Regions from separate parts of the Homo sapiens genome. Here regions 2, 3, 4, 5, 6 and 7 are each linked to region 1. The links are contacts of gene promoters, found by promoter capture Hi-C in blood cells and fetal thymus (Javierre and others, 2016). All regions are on one chromosome and are shown on one strand. Each heading gives the region's core, a stretch centred on a gene start or on the middle of the fragment in contact. The rest is flanking DNA. Distances are from core to core; before and after follow the strand shown.

The links. Contacts are between HindIII fragments. The CHiCAGO score rates a contact against its expected background, and 5 or more counts as called.
Region 2: the fragment with the promoter of WDR45 here is called in contact with the fragment with the promoter of NDUFB11 in region 1 in 4 of 17 cell types (neutrophils, naive CD4 T cells, non-activated CD4 T cells and 1 more); the score reaches 8.4 in neutrophils.
Region 3: a contact is called between the fragment with the promoter of TFE3 here and the fragment with the promoter of NDUFB11 in region 1, in 5 of 17 cell types (monocytes, activated CD4 T cells, non-activated CD4 T cells and 2 more). The highest score is 9.4, in monocytes.
Region 4: a contact is called between the fragment with the promoter of GRIPAP1 here and the fragment with the promoter of NDUFB11 in region 1, in 9 of 17 cell types (total B cells, total CD8 T cells, naive CD4 T cells and 6 more). The highest score is 17.6, in total B cells.
Region 5: a fragment that was not itself captured here is called in contact with the fragment with the promoter of NDUFB11 in region 1 in 1 of 17 cell types (non-activated CD4 T cells); the score reaches 6.8 in non-activated CD4 T cells.
Region 6: a contact is called between the fragment with the promoter of RBM3 here and the fragment with the promoter of NDUFB11 in region 1, in 1 of 17 cell types (total CD8 T cells). The highest score is 6.6, in total CD8 T cells.
Region 7: the fragment with the promoter of PORCN here is called in contact with the fragment with the promoter of NDUFB11 in region 1 in 1 of 17 cell types (activated CD4 T cells); the score reaches 6.4 in activated CD4 T cells.

Annotation. Positions count from the first base shown.
Region 1 is chrX:47,143,444-47,145,956 of GRCh38, reverse strand. It overlaps NDUFB11 (NADH:ubiquinone oxidoreductase subunit B11), which reads left to right and starts at 1,255. Exons shown (of 3, transcript NM_001135998.3): 1 at 1,255-1,484. The coding sequence starts at 1,278. RBM10 (RNA binding motif protein 10) reads right to left here and starts at 736. Exons shown (of 24, transcript NM_005676.5): 1 at 472-736. RefSeq lists an enhancer at 443-712. The HindIII fragment of the contact is 2,886 bases long and covers 911-2,513 here.
Region 2 is chrX:49,078,629-49,081,141 of GRCh38, reverse strand. WDR45 (WD repeat domain 45) reads left to right here and starts at 1,255. Exons shown (of 11, transcript NM_001029896.2): 1 at 1,255-1,391. RefSeq lists silencers at 486-555, 798-1,092 and enhancers at 798-1,092, 804-1,304. The HindIII fragment of the contact is 3,362 bases long and covers 298-2,513 here.
Region 3 is chrX:49,042,098-49,044,610 of GRCh38, reverse strand. TFE3 (transcription factor binding to IGHM enhancer 3) reads left to right here and starts at 1,254. Exons shown (of 10, transcript NM_006521.6): 1 at 1,254-1,500. The coding sequence starts at 1,385. RefSeq lists a silencer at 1,284-1,523 and an enhancer at 1,065-1,928. The HindIII fragment of the contact is 3,845 bases long and covers 745-2,513 here.
Region 4 is chrX:49,001,010-49,003,522 of GRCh38, reverse strand. GRIPAP1 (GRIP1 associated protein 1) reads left to right here and starts at 1,259. Exons shown (of 26, transcript NM_020137.5): 1 at 1,259-1,335. The coding sequence starts at 1,294. RefSeq lists an enhancer at 1,141-1,250. The HindIII fragment of the contact is 9,873 bases long and covers 918-2,513 here.
Region 5 is chrX:48,954,927-48,957,439 of GRCh38, reverse strand. It overlaps OTUD5 (OTU deubiquitinase 5), which reads left to right. Exons shown (of 9, transcript NM_001136157.2): 1 at 1-463. Among named protein-coding and RNA genes, the nearest start is that of OTUD5, 1.4 kb to the left of the region's middle. RefSeq lists a silencer at 157-216. The HindIII fragment of the contact is 195 bases long and covers 1,159-1,353 here.
Region 6 is chrX:48,573,225-48,575,737 of GRCh38, reverse strand. RBM3 (RNA binding motif protein 3) reads right to left here and starts at 1,254. Exons shown (of 7, transcript NM_006743.5): 1 at 1,165-1,254; 2 at 455-570; 3 at 71-177. The coding sequence starts at 557. RefSeq lists enhancers at 927-1,196, 180-1,379 and a cis regulatory region at 1,136-2,121. The HindIII fragment of the contact is 13,325 bases long and covers 1-2,513 here.
Region 7 is chrX:48,507,733-48,510,245 of GRCh38, reverse strand. PORCN (porcupine O-acyltransferase) reads right to left here and starts at 1,254. Exons shown (of 15, transcript NM_203475.3): 1 at 1,143-1,254; 2 at 290-462. The coding sequence starts at 425. PORCN-DT (PORCN divergent transcript) reads left to right here and starts at 1,407. Exons shown (of 2, transcript NR_135596.1): 1 at 1,407-1,527. RefSeq lists a silencer at 1,028-1,427. The HindIII fragment of the contact is 7,257 bases long and covers 1-2,513 here.

The DNA of each region.
Region 1 (2,513 bases), core at 6-2,505:
CGCCCCCCCTCAAAGGGTAAAGACCAGAGTCACATCCCCCCTCCGATCCCCCAGGAATAGAGACCAGAACCACAGAATATTTCCCCATGGACCGATAAACACCAGAGTAACACAGAGCAGCATCCCCTCTCCTATGCACAAACTCAAAGTCGCAGACAACCGCTTCCCCACTGATAAACTTCGATGTAGCCGACACAGTGATCCACAGTAGCCCACTCCCATCCGTCCCTCCCTTCCCCCAACCCGCATGCACCCATCCCATGTCCCAGTCGCGCACGCGCCTTTGCTCACACCAAAAAAAAAAAAAAAAAAAAAAAAAACCAAAAAAAAAAAAACCCTCCCGGGTTGAGACATTGCACCAACCCCTCCGTTCCGCGCATCTCCCCCGACCCGAAGTCCGCCCTCGCGCCTCCTCTACGTCCCCGCCCCGGGCCCCTTACCTCCGCCCCCACGACCAGCGTCGACGCTCACCTTCTCGGCCCGGGCTGTCAAGGAAGGGCTCCCAGACATCACCTCTGCCCGCCGCCACCTCCTCCAACTCTCCCAGCTCAGCCGGAGCCGGAGCGCGCAACAACCAAGTCCGAGACTGGAGGCAGATCGGGGGGAGGGGAGAAGCGCCAAGCGCGCTGCCCTCCCAGGGAAACTCACTGCCGCCTACTCCCAGCCGGCCACAGTCACCAGCTCAAAATGGCGACGACGAGAAGGGAGTCGGCGCTCCGACCACCATCCACCTACTAAGGAAGCGCGCTCTGGCCGGCCCCGGCGATTGGTCACCGCCCGCTAGGGGACAGCCCTGGCCTCCTCTGATTGGCAAGCGCTGGCCACCTCCCCACACCCCTTGCGAACGCTCCCCTAGTGGAGAAAAGGAGTAGCTATTAGCCAATTCGGCAGGGCCCGCTTTTTAGAAGCTTGATTTCCTTTGAAGATGAAAGACTAGCGGAAGCTCTGCCTCTTTCCCCAGTGGGCGAGGGAACTCGGGGCGATTGGCTGGGAACTGTATCCACCCAAATGTCACCGATTTCTTCCTATGCAGGAAATGAGCAGACCCATCAATAAGAAATTTCTCAGCCTGGCCGAAAATGGTTGGCCCCACGAAGCCACGACAACTGGAGGCAAAGAGGGTTGCTCAACGCCCCGCCTCATTGGAAAACCAAATCAGATCTGGGACCTATATAGCGTGGCGGAGGCGGGGCGATGATTGTCGCGCTCGCACCCACTGCAGCTGCGCACAGTCGCATTTCTTTCCCCGCCCCTGAGACCCTGCAGCACCATCTGTCATGGCGGCTGGGCTGTTTGGTTTGAGCGCTCGCCGTCTTTTGGCGGCAGCGGCGACGCGAGGGCTCCCGGCCGCCCGCGTCCGCTGGGAATCTAGCTTCTCCAGGACTGTGGTCGCCCCGTCCGCTGTGGCGGGAAAGCGGCCCCCAGAACCGACCACACCGTGGCAAGAGGACCCAGAACCCGAGGACGAAAACTTGTATGAGAAGGTGAGAGGCGGGGGGGGGGGGGGGGGTAGTGGGGACGGAACCCCGAAGGGGTCAGTCCGGGATCGGCAGATGGGGCGCTGTAGAGGACGTTCTTAGGCAGTAGAGGACTGCGCGGCCGGCGAAAGCCTAGAAGACTTGGGAATTTTGCCTACCTTGTGTTCCTCCTTTGTCTCTCGGTATCTTCGTTCCAGGGCCAGAGGCAGGATTGGTTTTATTTTGCAGACAGAAATCACACCTCAAGTGGACAGCGCTCAAAACACGTTAGAAGCAGTATAGTACAACGATAATACTAAACACCGATATGGCACTTGCTCGTTGCCGTCTGCATTCTTTTTTTTTTTTTTATAGGGACGAGATCTCGCTATGTTGCCCAGGCTGGTCTCGAACTCCTGGCTCAAGCGATCCTCTCGCCTCGGCCTCCCAAGGTGCTGGGATTACAGGCATGAGCCACCGCTCCGGGCCCCGTCTGTGTTCTAAACACTTGACATGCATTAGCTCATCTTATACTCGAAACAAACCCCATTTCGAGGTGGGCTCTATTATTATACTCATCCTACAGATGAGGAAACTGAGGCACAGAGATGTTAAGTGGATTGCCCTAGCTCACATAACTGAATACATGGTGGAGGTGGAACTGGTATTTGAATTTAGGGCTACCAGGTCTGCTGTGCTGTATTAATAGCAGACGCTGTGAAATCAGGCAGCACTGACGGTTACCCACCCGTGTGATCTTGGTAGCATAAACCCTTGGTGCCTCAGTTTCTTTGTCTGTAAGATGGGAACAGTAATAGGACACCTTCTAAAAAATAGGACACCCCACCTGCCTCATGTAATTAAATGAGTAAAAATGGTCAGAACAGCAGCTGGCACTTCGTAAGTATGTACTCAGCACTAGAATGTGTTTATTATTGCCATGTTTCACCTCACTGAGATATTGTGAGGTGTTTCTATGTGAAAAGACTGGCACATAATAAGTACTTCATCAATACTAACCTCTGGTTAAGGGGCTTGGATATATAGGATGCTTGT
Region 2 (2,513 bases), core at 6-2,505, 1.9 Mb before region 1:
CTGAGGTCAGGAGTTCAAGACCAGACTGATCAACAGGGAGAAACCCGGTCTCTACTAAAAATACAAAATTAGCTGGGCGTGGTGGCACATGCCTGTAATCCCAGCTACTTGGGAGGCTGGGGAGGCTGAGGCAGAAGAATCCCTTGAACCCGGGAGGCGGAGGTTGTGGTGAGCCAAGATCGCGCTAATTGCACTCCAGCCTGGGCAAAAAGAGCCAAACTCTGTTAATCAAAAAAAAAAAAAAAAAAAAAAATTCCTTCCAGTATGCATATAATTTGGGGCCTTTTTTTAAAAGCTTTATCATAGGTAGGACCTCTTTTTTTTTTTTTTTTTAACCCAAAGCATTCATACCTTTTACTATCAAAAAGCTATTTTGTATTTTGTAAAAATAAAAGCAGAGGCCGGGCGTGGTAGCTTAAGCCTGTAATCCCAGCACTTTGGGAGGCCGAGGTGGGTGGATAACCTGAGGTCAAGAGTTCGAGACCAGCCTGACCAACATGGTGAAACCCCGTCTCTACTAAAAATACAAAAATTAGATGGGCGTGGTGGCGCACGCCTGCAGTCCCAGCTACTCCGGAGGCTGAGGCAGGATAACCGTTTGAACCCGGGAGGCGGAGGTTGCAGTGAGCCGAGATCGCGCCACTGCACTCCAGCCTGGGAGACAGAGCGAGACTCTGTCTCAGAAAACAAAACTAAACAAAACACAAAAGACAAAACTCAGAGCTGGCGGGGTTGGGGGGACAGGGTGGGGAGAAAGAAAGCGAAATCTGTTCCTTGGCTTCCCGGAGCCAAGGAGGTTTCTCCACTTTCAAGGTCTCCAGGTCCGCCCCCGCCTGTAACCCCCAGCGCCGCCCCTCTGGAAGCCTGGGAGGACTGTGTGTTGCGAACCGGGGCGGCTACTCTCGGCCGCCGCGGAGGTCCGCGTCTTGTTAGCAGGGAAGGTTTACTCCCCCATTGTGGGTGACCAAGGGGCTGAGGGCTTGGCCGGTTTCGCTTTGCTGGGGGCAAGGCACGCTCTCTCTCCCCACCCTTCCGGGTTCCCTCAGACAGTCTCGGCCTTGAGGAACCCCCTTCGCCTCCGGTCCCCCAGCCAACCTTCCTCCGCTCCCCGCGCCCTCCCCGGAGAACCCCACTGTCACTCGCGATGCTCCGAAGACCCGGGAACTAGGCGAGGAAGGCGGTGGCCGCCTTTTTCCAGCTGGGGTGAGTCATTTCCTGCGACAGGCTCCCTCCCCCGGAAGTAGGGCCTGATGTAAACACCCGAGCCGGGCTCCAAGGCCCGGGAGGTCAGAAAACCGGGCCGCGGGCGGCACCGACAGCTGGGGCCCGGGTCAGGGACACGCGGAGGTCAGGCCGGTGAAGGCGGCAGGAAGCTGGAGCACGATCCCAGGGTTGGTTGGGTCTGGGGGAGGCTGGAAGTCTTTCGAGTAGGGGTCTAAGGCAGAGGTCTTGAGTGGGTGCTGGCGTTGGAAGGAGCATGCGGCTGGTCTTGGGAGAGGGGCGAGGCATCCCGGACAGAGTCTTGGAATGGAGGTGCAAAAAAGGGGTGTTGAAAGTTGGAGCTGTCCAGAGAATAACTCTAAGGCAGAGCTGTCCAAAGAAAGAGCATGAGGCATTCCAGTGGAGGGTGTAACTGAAAGAAAGGAAGGAGATTTGGACTCTTGGAGGATGGGGGAGGGAGTATGTCTGGCCAGAGTTATTGGGGAGTTGAGGATTTGAAGGGAAGTTGGGGGCTCTATGGCAGTAATCTTAGTAGGGGACTGCGCAGGCATCTTAGGGGTTGAGGTTCTCCTAGGTAGGAGTTTTGGGTGGTTTGTTTTGGGCAAGGGTCTTAGAAGGCAAGGGTGCCCTGGGGCGGGGTCTTGGATAGGGGTCTAGAGGGGGAATCTTAGGAGGATGGGGGGGGTTCCTGGGGTTGGGTCCAGGCCAGGTTATGTTGTAGTCAAGGACAGCAGAACACAAGGAAGGAGATGTCCCAGGGGTGGAAAATTTAGAGTGCTAGGGGGAATCCTAGGGTAGAGTCCCCAGGGCATAAGCCAATCTAAGGGAATGTCTAGGCTGGCCCTGAAGGGTAGTTACCAAGGCATGAGAAGGGGTCATCCCAAGGTAGGCATCCTGAAGGAGTTTGGGGAAGCCGGTTGAGGGGGAAAGGTGTGAGAGGACTCTGGGGTGGTCAAATAGGTTGGGGTACAGTTAGAAGGGTATGAGCAGAGGAGTTCCTGGGGATGGCAGACCAAGCATAGCAGTCCCAGGGCCAAGTCAGGGAGGTACAAGAAGTGCATCTCCTAGCCCACTTTTGTCTATTTATTGAGAGAGTCCGGTGCTAGGTCAGGTTTGAAGATGAGAAATGGGTTGGGAGTGGTTCCAGGCCATGTCTGGCATTGGGATCAAGATTGGCTGGCGGTGGGGAGGAGATATCACGGGGGCACCCCCTATCACATTACTTCCTGACAAGTCAGTGAGGGCCAGCATGTAAAGAGGAGGTGTGGGGTCCACGTCAGTGTGGGCCTGGA
Region 3 (2,513 bases), core at 5-2,504, 1.9 Mb before region 1:
ACAGGAAGGTCCAAGGTAAATGAAAGCCCGGTGAAATTCCTGGAGGCGCAACTCAGGGTGGGGTCTTGGGATGTCAGGAAAGAGGAAGGGAAGGCTGTAGGTCTGGGTGTTTTGTGAGCTATTTGCACCTGAGGATATATGAGTGAGACCCTCCGCCTTGTGCGAGCCGGCTTGCATGCGTCTGGCATACAGAAGCGCTCAGTGAATGTTGAATAAGTGAACAAATGAGTGAATCAACTAATTTTGGGAAGCTTCTTGTATGCCAAACAACCTGCTAGCACTTTTCATACATTATCTTTAATCCTCAGAACAACCCTGCCAGACAGGTATTTTGACCCCCATTTAACAGGCCAGGAAAGCTGAGGCTGGGAGAGGGGAGGTCCCCTTCCCTATTCAAACCTGGATCTTTGTGATTCCAGAAGTCGTCATTCACCGAAGGGACCAGATTCATTCACCCGTCAAGAATTTATTAAGCACATATTGCGCAGCGCAATGAACATAGTACAACCGCTCTCGATGGCATGGAACAGGCGGAATACTCCCGGAAGACCAGCTGGGCGGCTGGACTGCGGACAGCGAAAGGGGGGGGTTTCTGGCCCGCACCTTCAGGGAATGTAGCTGCCTCTGCCTCATAGTTATGGCTTTGGCTGAGAGAGCACAGCCAGATCGAGGTTGGAGCGCGGTCTAGGGCTCAGATATTACAAATATTGGCCGAAAGAGGGCGCGGTTCCGCAGCTAAAAGCTTGGCCAGGAGACCCTCCGTGCGCCGACTGGCCATCGATGCGCAGGCGCAGAGGACCCAAGGAGCGGCTTAATATTACCTTGCAGAGGGATAATTTGAGAAGAGAGGGCGTGGCTCCGAAAGCGACGCAAACATAGAGGCGTGGTTCAACCAAATCAACCCTCGCCTATTTGTCGCTGCCCCTGAGGGCGTGGTCTGGGTGCTGCTTCTCGGAATGAGGGCGGGCCGAATCGCGTTTTTCCTCCGCGTCGGAGGCGTCGCTTAGGGTGGGCCCTCGAATCGCCGTTCAGCGATTGGCCGCCTCGCTAATGGGTCGTGGCCAGACGGGCCATCCATCCCCAGTGCGGTCACTTCCTGTGGAGTTTCCCCATCCCTGGGAGGAGGGAGGAGGGGGAAGAAGACGAGGGGGAGGAGGGCGGTCGTCCGGGGTTAGGTTGAGGGGGGGCGTCGGTCCGTTCTGGGCGGGGGATGACTCACAGCCCATCCCATCTCCCCGACGCCGCCCGCCCGCGCAGTGCTAGCTCCATGGCTTAGCGGAGGAGGCGGCGGTGGCGAGCTGGGGGGAGGGGGGACTCTTATTTTGTTAGGGGGACCGGGCCGAGGCCCGACCGGCCTGGCAGGGCTCGCCCGGGGCCGGGCGTCATGTCTCATGCGGCCGAACCAGCTCGGGATGGCGTAGAGGCCAGCGCGGAGGGCCCTCGAGCCGTGTTCGTGCTGTTGGAGGAGCGCAGGCCGGCCGACTCGGCTCAGCTGCTCAGGTGCGGGGCCGCCTGGGGCTGGGAGTGCCGACTGGGGCTCCCAGGGGCCTGATCTCGGGGGCAGTGGGGGCCCCGGACTGGGATTGGAGGCCCTCGGCCTAGCCTTGGAGGACGTCGGGGCGCCCGTCTTGGGGGGGCACCTAAGGAATCCGGCAGTGGCCTGCTTGGATTGTGGCTTTATTAAAGGAGTCGTGGGAGTGCATTAAGCGGGGTCTGGGTCAGGTTTGGGGAGCCCTTGACTGCGTCTAGAGGGGCCTATTCTGGAGTATCCAGAAACTGGTCTGAGATAGCTGAACTTGGTAGACAGGGTCTCTGATTAGAGGCTGAATTCGGGGATTTTCAGTCGGACATGAGGGGAATGAATTTGAGGGGACACTGTCAGGTGAGGCACTGGTTTTAAGGGAATCCTAGAATCTTTTTTCCCTCAGTGTGGGAGAAGGGGTCCTGAGGGACAGAAGTGCTGTCTTGGGAGCTTGGTGCCTCTCAGTGACTGGTTGCTGTGTTTGGGGATAACATGAATCTGGAGGGATTTGGAGGTATCTCAGATATGCTGCCTGGGACCAGCCTTGTGAGTGCGTGTGAATGAACAAGAGAAGCAACATTCAGCAAGACTTGACCAGAATAATCCTTTCCCCTCTGCCCGCCTACCCAGCTGGGGCAGATCCCAAGGATAGTGGAAAAGCCCTCTTCCCACACCTGTTAAGGGCCTGAATGGAAGATAGACAGCCAGGCAGAGGGCGATGATGTTACCTCTTAGCTCAGAGGCCTCAGACCTTGTTTGGGAACCCAGAGGAGGCTCTTGTTCATGCTGCTACTCGCTCTAGCCTCTCAGCCCTTCCCACTCCCTAGCCCCACACCCCTTTTCTTTTTATCTTCTTTTCGATCTCCGAGCTCCTGGGGGTAATCTTGAATCTGTCCATAGAGCTGGAACGAGTACAGATTGCACCATCCCTGCCTGGGTGGATCCCCTCTGGCCTCTTCTCATCCTTACTTTCATCAATGGGCTTTGGAGC
Region 4 (2,513 bases), core at 10-2,509, 1.9 Mb before region 1:
AGTAGCTGGGATTACAGGCGCCCACCACCACACCCGGCCAATTTTTGTGTTTTTAGTAGAGATGGGGTTTCACCATGTTGGCCAGGTTAGTCTCGAACTCCTGACCGCAAGTGAACAGCCCTCCTTGGCCTCCCAAAGTGCTGGGATTACAGGCGTGAGCCACCGCGCCCGGCCCTGCTGGAAATATTTTTCCACAGCAGGGAAATCATTAAATTCTACGAAAATAAGAAGGCTGGGCGCGGTGGCTCACGCCTTAATCCCAGCACTCTGGGAGGCCGAGGCGGGCGGACTACCTGAGGTCGGGAGTTCGAGACCGGCCTGACCAATATGGAGAAACCCCGTCTCTACTAAAAAAAAAAAAAAAAATTACCCGGACGAGGTGGCGGGCGCCTGTAATCCCAGCTACTCGGGAGGCTGAGGCAGGAGAATCGCTTGAACTCGCCAAGCGGAGGTTGCTGTGATCGGATATCGTGCCACTGCACTCCAGCCTGGGCAACAAAAGTGAAACTCCGTCTCAAAAAAGAAAAACAACAACAACAACAACAACAAAAACAGAAAGAAAAAAGAAAATAAGAAAAAAACTACACTGAGATACCATTTCTTACTCTCAGATCGGTGAGGGTTATAGTGAATTCTAATACTTGAATGAGCCTGGTGTTTCACCACCCTGGTTTGTTTTTTGTTTTTGTTTTGTTTTAATGTAGCTTTTTCGTTTGATTCACTGTCACTCTTTCCACTCTGCTATTTTTATTGGTGGCTAAGTCCTTTACCTAACGTGACATGCAGTATCATGATAACAAAATAAGTGTCAAACCTTAAAAAAAAAAAAAAAAAAAAAGGCCAAAGGCTTTACAAGAGGTGGGATTCCCCTTTGGGGTCTCCCGGAGGAGGGGCGGGAACAAGACCAGAGCGAAGCTTCCGCTTTCATTTCTATGGTTATTAAGTTACCCATTCTCATTAAAGGAATACCGCGGAAGGGTGATTTTCTGTCGGCAAAGACTTCCCTAGCGACGAGTCCACCCATGAAACGGGGATGTAATAATGTCGTATCACAATGGGTGGCCTAGAAGAGTCCAAAAGCCAATCAGATGACTTACATTCGGGTAGAACGTTGTATTACAGTTCACCTGACTCGTCGGTTTCGTTCTCTTCTCTGCGTCTCCAAAATGCTGCCCTTCGGAATTAGGTTCTACCCCCTCCATTCCTGGCCAGTGGTTTGGTCCGACCTTAATACTGCCAGGAGGCGCGAGCTGCGTCTGCGCAGAAAGCTGGCGGGGGGGTGGGGGGAGGAACATGGCGCAAGCTCTGTCTGAGGAGGAGTTTCAGCGGATGCAGGTGCCGCTCGCGGTGGGAAAGACCACCCGGCTAGGCGACCGGGGGCGGGGTAGCGAGAGGTCGTGCTATCAGCTCTGAGAAGGGGTTGGTTGGGATGGACCCTGAGTTTATGGGGTGGGTCTGGAGAAGGGAAACTGAGGCTCGGAGTGGTGAGACTATTGGATTCCGAGATACTCTGCGGCTTTGAAGGTTGGACTCTGTTAGCATTGTGGGCTGGGAGAGCGCCATTAAGTAGGCGGTACCTTACTCAGACCTGGAGGGGACGAGACTTTTGGGCCCGTGCAGGGGACACCGTCGGCGGGTGATGATAATGGGCTTTGAGGGAAGGAGATCCTGAGAAGGCGAAACCATTTTGTCTGGAGAGGAAGGAAGCGGGTGTTGGGTCGTTTGCGTCATGGTGGTGGGAGCCCTTGAGAGGGCAGAACCATTAGCGGGTGGGAGGTGGTAAGTTTTGGGGGAGATACCACTGTGCCCGGGGATTGGGGAAAGACCCCAGATGTTGTCATTGTTCCTGGGAGGTGGAGATCCTGTGCCATTGGTGGTTGGTAGTGCATCCTAAGAGGGGGCGGCACCATTGGATGATTAAGGGTGATCCCATTAGGCCTGGGGTGAAGAAGGCCATGAATGGGTAATACCATTAATCCCATTAACTGGGGGGAGGACCAGAGGGGTAAAAGATTGATACCTTGGACTACAAGGAGGGAAGATCACTGGGCTTTGGGGAGGTACCCCCACTTGATTCTTTTGGGGGGACTCTGAGATGCAATGAAAGGCCATAGCATTGCACTATGAATGGGCCCTTGTTGAGAGGGTTCCTCACTGGGGGGGGGGTCTGAACAGGGTCCTGCATGGGGAGGGGAGGAACTCTGAGGGAGGACAGGTAATCCAATTGGTCCTTGAATGAGGGAAACCAGCTGTCCCTGTGTGAGGGACACTGAGAATGGAAGGGCGAGTTGATTAACCCATGAATGGGGAAGACCACTGTCATCTGAAAGGGATTCTAAGTGAGTAAGAGTCATCCAACTGGCCTACCCAAGGCCTTGTAGAGGCCTACCCTGAAGGGTGTAGGGCCATTCCCAATGGATCATGACTGGGGAGATCTTGAGGGGAGTGGGAATACCCTTGAATGAGGAACATTGATCCCACTGGGCCATGAATGAGGGAGAACTACTGGGCTT
Region 5 (2,513 bases), core at 7-2,506, 1.8 Mb before region 1:
CGTGGGCGGCGGCGATCGCGACCGTGACTCCGGCGTCGTGGGGGCCCGTCCGCGAGCTTCGCCACCGCCTCAAGGCCCGCTACCAGGACCGCCGGGCGCTCTTCATCGCTGGGCGCTGGCCGTGCCGCCTGGTGCAGTGGCGGGTCCCCGGCCACAACAGGCTTCTCCACCTCCTTGCGGGGGCCCAGGTGGTCCCGGCGGCGGTCCCGGCGACGCGCTGGGCGCAGCGGCGGCGGGTGTGGGTGCCGCGGGCGTGGTGGTGGGTGTGGGTGGTGCCGTAGGCGTGGGCGGCTGCTGCTCCGGGCCTGGGCACAGCAAGCGGCGACGTCAAGCTCCCGGGGTTGGCGCGGTTGGCGGGGGCAGTCCCGAGCGTGAGGAGGTCGGCGCAGGCTACAACAGTGAGGACGAGTATGAGGCGGCTGCAGCACGCATCGAGGCTATGGACCCTGCCACTGTCGAGCAGGTAAGAGCTGTGGGGTGAGGGGTGAGCGGCCACGGCAGATGGGACCCCCAGACTGTGAAGGGACTCAAGGAAGGCTGTTTGAGATCGCCCCAAGGGATCTAGGCGTTTTCACTGGGCCTGACAGTCTTCTCTGGCGGTAGGGATGTGAGACACCTTCTTTCCTCCCCTCCAGGATTTTGGGGCTAGAGGCCTACGGTAAGGTGTCAGACTTAAAGATCCGAGGTCTCTTTTAAGGTCTATAGTCGTCATTCCAGTCCCTGGGACCTCATCATATAGGGCCAATAGGTGGGAATTCTCCAAGAGATACAGGTAGGATCGCGCCCCTCTTGAGTAGGAGTCTCAGGTCTCCCAAGAGACTTAGGTATGTGTTCAGTGGCTTAAGAGCTCTTTTCCTCTGGGATAGAAGTTTGAGATTCCCCTTCCAGGAAAGTCAAATAAGGTGGAGACCTCGGAGATCGGGGCTGAACATCCCCAAGGAGCCTAAGCCCTTTCAAGAGTCTGAGACACTCTGCATATAGGACAATCCTCTCCCGCTTCGCTGGGTAACACTGCACAGGACCACTGAATAGCCAGACCTGAGACCTCAAGGGTCCTAAGTCTGTCTTCAGGGGCCTGAGAGTCCTGCTTCTAGAATCAAGGTCCTGACACACACACACACACACACGCCCCCTTTAAGGATAGGGATCTTCTAAGCTTTTTCCAGGGATGTAAGACTTTTCACAGGGAGATATGATTCCCTTGCCCTTGGGGACAGGGACCAAAACCAACACCCAATGACCAGCAGCTTTACTTATCTCCTTTCTGAGTGACAAAGGTCTGCATTTCCTATCAGTGGCCTGAGACCTACCTCTTGGGAGACAAGGGCCTGAACCGCTTCAGGATCTTAAGCTTCTTGTAAGAAGAGATGGGCCCTCAGCACCCCCACCAGGGGCCTGAACCTTTCTTCAGGAAAATGAGACTCACAGCGTTGGATCCTAGGGCCTAAGATCCACCTGCTTATGGACTGAGGTTTTTAGAGACCGAGTCTGAGGCCTCTTCAGGGGCCTGGTGTCCTGCTGCAAAGGTCTCAGACAAGGTGAAGTCTTTAGGAGATCCTTCTTCTCAAGGCTGGTGTCTGAGTGGTTTTGGGGATCTGAGACTCCCCACCCCACGAGCATATGTGACCCTTTTACCCCAATTATAAGGAACTGAAACATACCTTGGGGATACAGTATCCCATTTTCCCCTCTGTAACAGGGGTTTGAGGCCCTCCCACCTTGGGCCTAAGCTTTTTGTCAGGGACATACGACCCATGCCTTGGGAACTTGAGCCTGAGACGACTACTCAGGGGACATGGGCAACATGGGATCCCAGAGATGATGTCTGGGGCCTCCCTACAGATCTTTGCCTACTTTTAAGGGCCTGAGACCCACTCTGCCAAGGACACTTGAGCTTTCCTTCAGGGACAGGAGACTCATACATACCTTGGTGACTTGTGTGTCTAGAGGTAAGGTCTGAGCTTCCTCCTCAAGGAACTTAAGATGTACACCTGAGAAACAGGAGGACTCCTCCCCCCAGACCTGAGCCCTGAGACTCTTCCCTTGGGGCATGGATAAAGGATCCCTGTGGAACAGGGTCCTGAGTCTACCTCCAAGGGTTTGAATCATAACTCAGGTGTGTGAAGGCCTGTTCCCCACCTTAGGACCTGATTTCTGAACCTGCCCTGAGGGTACTGTCACCTCACCTCAGACAACTTACATACACCCTAGTCTTAGGGGTCATTTAGGGACATAAGACTTCCTGCCTCGGGGACTTGGGCCTTAGACTCCCAACTCCTTTTGGGGACATGAATAGGGTAGGATTCTGAGGAAAAGAGTCTGGGCCCAAGCTTTCTCTCTGGGACAAGATACCGTTTGCCTTAGGGACTGGGGGCCTGGCTCCCACTTGGGCATGAGGCTCTCCTCCTACCACACCAGGCAATCCTTTCTGTCCAGGGAGAGGAACGTGAGGTCATCCTCTCCCATTGGACAGAAGGACCTGGATGCTCTTCAGGGTCATATGAACCCCTTAT
Region 6 (2,513 bases), core at 5-2,504, 1.4 Mb before region 1:
AGGGAAAAACAAAAAGAATGAAGGAAGCCGCAGATGGGGACAAGGTCCCTCTGCAGATAGGAGGCCCCACCTCTCCGTTCATGGCTCTCATGGCAACTGAAGCATGCTCTGGGTTGGTGAAGGTGATGAAACCAAAACCCCTGGACCGCTGAGTCTCCCGGTCCTTGACAACGACCACTGTGAGAGGGAGAGAAGATGGAGCAATGTGGACCAGTCAGTACCCCAAAGGTTAAGTAGCAAAGGGTGGCCGGAAAAGGAGATGGCATAGGTAGGGAAAACGGAGCGCTCCCACTAATCCCAAAGACGCTTCCCCTCATCCTTAGTCTACACCATAGGCTTAGGAAGAAAAAGAATTTGGAGGCGTGGGTCCTAACTTTTCAGTTAATACTCCTTGAAATGCAAGGATCCCAGACTTTCTCTCACCAACCCCCATTGTGAGTATGGCCCGTCTCACCCTCAGAGATAGGTCCGAAACTGCTGAAGTGGTCTTCCAGTGCCTGCTCGTCGGTGTTAAAGTTGAGCCCTCCCACGAAGAGCTTTCCTTCTTCAGAGGACATGGCAGTTCAAGTCCTGTGGGAAGAACATGAAGAATGGTGGCAGGAAGGAGAAAGAAAATGGAGATGTGAGAAAATAGCGAGACGGAAAGCAGAGAAAAAGCACAGAAAATAGACAAGAAAGAGGAACAAAATATGGGTAACTACAGAAAAGCTGAGAAAGGCGGCCAATAAGGTGGTAATCTGAGGAGCTGGCTCAGCGCAGCCACCATTAGGGGGCCACATTGCGCATGCTCTCACATTCATAGCCGCCACGCCCGTCATTTTGTGCCACTGCGCAAGCCCAGAACATCCCTGCGTTCCCTTAACGCCGGCAGAACAAGATGGCGGCGGCCACGTGGGATAAGGAAAGTAAGTGTCGGCTGTCGCGTGGTCACTGCCACCACCGACGCCACCAGTCCCTCCCGGTAGGCCTCACACTCAGATACAGCGCGCCGGCCTCCCACCAACCGAAATGTTTCACCTCCAAGCACGGGACCCGCCCGTCCCAGAGAAAGCCAAGCCTACGTGTCAGTGGCCATTACTCTCCCCACTCGCTATTCCCCGGTCACGGCCGGCGCGGCGCGTGTGTGGCGAGGAGCCGCCGTTTCGCAGGACATATGCAACTTACCTGGAAATTAAAACGTAAAAAACCCGGACGAACAGCGAGCTCGGAGGAGCACAAAAAACAGGGACGGGGCTGCGCCGGAAGACGATTGATAAAGAGTACGTAGCGAGAACGTCCCGGAACGTTCCCCTTGCGCGTCCCGGCGTGCGTGCTGATTGGCTGAGGCCAGCAGGAGCGGAGTGGTGGGGAGAGGAAGGGACAGCAAAGCGAAGGGAGCAGTGTTCTCCGCGAAATGGGGTGTTTCCGGAAATGGGGTGTTTCCGGAAATGGGGTCGACTTTTGAACAGCTGGTGCACCCTAAACGTCAGCATCCCCCCCACAACCGGCTGAGCTGCCTTTATCCCTTCCACAAAGGAACCTTCTCAATCTCATACTACTTGCTGTCCCTGACATCATCCTCCCGTCCTTGCCATCATTTCCCCCGCTGGATCGGATGTCTTCCTCACCATCGTAGTCGTCTTCCTCTAGGTCCCTGCCATTCTCTGATGTTAACCTCCTTCACCTTCTAGTTCTTTAACCTCATACCCTTTAAAGGCCTGACATTTTATCCCCCACCGTCACTGATGTCATCACCCTTCACAGTCCATGATGTCAGACCCAACGTTTTAAGGTTTGACCCTGACTCCTACTCTTTCTCCTCTGTGCTCAACATCTAGCCGCCTGTCATGGGACCCTTTTCCCTGGCGTCATTCCATCTCATCTCTGACTTCAGCCCTCACCCTTGTCTGACTGCTGGCGTGAAGCCAGCCCCTTAATTTTCTCACCAATAGACTGCCTGAGATGGCTTTTACAAAACAGGATGCTGGCCGGGCGCGGTGGCTCACGCCTGTATTCCCAGCACTTTGGGAGGCCAAAGCGGGCGGTTCACGAGTTCAGGAGTTCGAGACCTGCATGGCCAACATGGTGAAACCCCATCTCTACTAAAAATACAAAAAAAAAAAAAAAAAAAAAAAAAGAAAAAAAAAATTAGCTGGGTGTGGTGGCACGTGCCTGTAGTCCCACCTACTCGGGAGGCTGAGGCTGGAAAATCGCTTGAACCCGGGAGGCGGAGGTTGCAGTGAGCCGAGACCACGCCATTGCACTCCAGCCTGGGTGAAAACAAAACAAAACAAAAGAGGATGCTACGATCTTCAGAGGTTGTAAATCCCAATCCATAGAGCAATTTTTGCTCTCTTCGAAAGTAACTGAGCCCTTGCCGGGCGCAGTGGCTCATGCCTGTAATCCCAGCACTTTGGGAGGCCGAAGTGGGCAGATCACAAGGTCAGGAGTTCAAGACTACCCTGGCCAATATGGTGAAACCCTGTCTCTACTAACAATACAAAAAAAAAAAAAAATTAGCCGGGCGTGGTGGT
Region 7 (2,513 bases), core at 5-2,504, 1.4 Mb before region 1:
AATCTCAGCTTTCTGGAATCCCAGAACTCAGGAATACTGAAGGGCATGGCTTGGCATGGCAGGATGTGGCTCGGTGTGGCATGGCATGGGGTGGCTGGCATAGTAGGATGTGGTATGGTGGAATGGGGTTTGGCCTGGTGGGATGTGGTGGGGCTGAACATGTTGGGGTCCAGCTTGGACATGCTAGGGCCTGGCAGGATGTGACAGGGTAAGGTGTGGCTCGATATGGATGAATGTGGGAGGTCTGATATGGCCTGGCATGGTGGCACACGGTATGGCAGGCACTTACCGAGCCTCCAGAGGAGGCGGCAGGCGAGGCAGATGGCAAGGAGCAGCCAGATCTGGTCAAGGCCCTGCTGGGCAGTAGGCAGGAGACAGCCTTGCAGTAGCTGCTGGAAAAATTCCTGGCGGCTAAAGGTGGCCATTGCAGACCCCCACGGATGGATGGCCAGATGGATAGATCTGTCAAAGCAGGGACACAGAGGGAGCGGGTGTCCGTGGGGCAGACCTCGCTTAAAGGATGCACTCTGGCACTCACATTTCAGTTTGGGGCTGCCCAGCCCATGTAGAGGCACGGTACTGGAGGACTGGGGGAAGGCGTGAGAAGTCAGGTACATCAGACTGAGCCACCAACTGTGTGCATGTGGGTGTTCGGCATGCACACGCACAGCCTGTGACCTGGAGTGAATGAAGGACCTCTGTCTCTCCAGTGCTGTGAACAGTCCAGTCCGATGGTGATGGGATGGCATACATTTCAGGCCCATATATCAAATGGGGCGGGCGACGGGAAGGGGAATCCCTGGTTTCCAAGGTAGAGTCGCTCTGAGTGGAGGGCAGAGAGGGGGATTCTGTGACACTTGGGGGCCGTGTGCATCTCTCCTTGTATGGATGCGGCGGCACGGGGAGGGGGGGTGTCCTGTATCCTCCGCGCCCCCCATCTCATCCCCACCCGGCGAGAGGCCGCCAACAAAGTCCTGCCCAGGTCCGGGGGCTGCAAGGAGGTGGTGGTAGGAGACATAGCCTGAGGGAGAGTCGGAAAGGTGATGGGGAGGGGGTCCTAGCACTCGCGCTACAGATCCGCCTGGGGAGGCCGGCCCAGGGATGGGAGCTGGGGAGCCGCGTGCGCACTACTGGCGACCTACCTGGCAGGAAAGAAGCCGTGGTCCTGGGGACCGAGGACGCGCTGCCGCCGCCGCTGCCTCCTCCGGGCAGCCTCCCCCGCAGGCCGCAAGGCCGGGACCAGCAGCGGCTCCCAGAGCGGCGCGGCGAGCGGGCCCTTTAAATCCCGGGGCGGCCCGGCCGCCGGCTCGGCCAATGGGAGAGCAGGAGGGGGGCGGGGACGGGGACGCGGAGGAGGGGAGCAGGAGGATTGAGGGGAGACCGGCGCGGGGGGACGTCGGCGCGCAGGACGTTCACGCCCGCACCTTTCCGGCCTGTGGCGGTTTCAGCCCCAGACCGTCTGCCTCCGGAGGATTTCTGGCCATCCAAGAACAAACTTCCGAATCTCCAAATTTCCAAGCCTTGGAAGTGAGAAGGGAAAGATGGGGGAGGGAGGAGGGAAGCCGCTGCACCCCCAAATAGTCACCCGCGCACGTCCTCTAAATACCGTGGTGTCCCCGTTTCACAGATGGGAAAACAAACCGAGATCTCTCCTTCCCCAACCTTTGAGAGAACCGAAGTAACTCCCAACCCTCCCACCTCCTGGGACCGGCCAGGAACATTTATAAGTAATGACTGTGTCACCTAGGAACACAAATTAGGCGCCTGTGCTTCCCCTGGGGACGAGCTGTGAGCACTTGGCGTGTCGTCGTTGAGAAGTGATTTGCATGCTTAATTCCCCAGCAGACTCTTTGCTTCGAAGGTGACCCCAGCGACTAGTAAATGTTCTCTGTGAACTAGAGGGAGGCTAGTACCGAGCACTTAAAAGGGGGGCATTTATAAAGCTCTTAAGGGCCAGGCTCGGTGGCTCACGCCTATAAACCCAGCACTTCGGGAGGCCAAGGGTAGGAGGATAGCTTGAGGTCAGGAGTTCGAGACCAGCCTGGCCAACATGGCGAAACCCCGTCTCTACTAAAAATACAAAAATTAGCCAGGCGTGGTGGCGCACGCTTGTAATCCCAGCTACTCGGGAGGTTAAAGCAGGAGAATCAGGAGGCAGAGGTTGCAGTGAGCCAAGATCGCGTCATTGTGGGCTACAAGAGCGAAACTCCGTCTCAAAATAAATAAATAAAGACTGGGCGTGGTGGCTCACACCTGTAACCCAGCACTTTGGAAGGCCGAGGCGGATGGATCACCTGAGGTCATGAGTTTGAGACCAGGCTGGCCAATATGGCGAAACCCTGTCTCTACTAAAAATACAAAAAATTTAGCTGGGCGCCTGTAATCCCAGCTACTCCGGAGGCTGAGGCAGGAGAATCACTTGAGCCCAGGAGACGGAGGTTGCAGTGAGCCGAGATCACGCCATTGCACTCCAGCCTGGGTGACAAGAGCAAAACTCCTTCTCCAAAATAAAT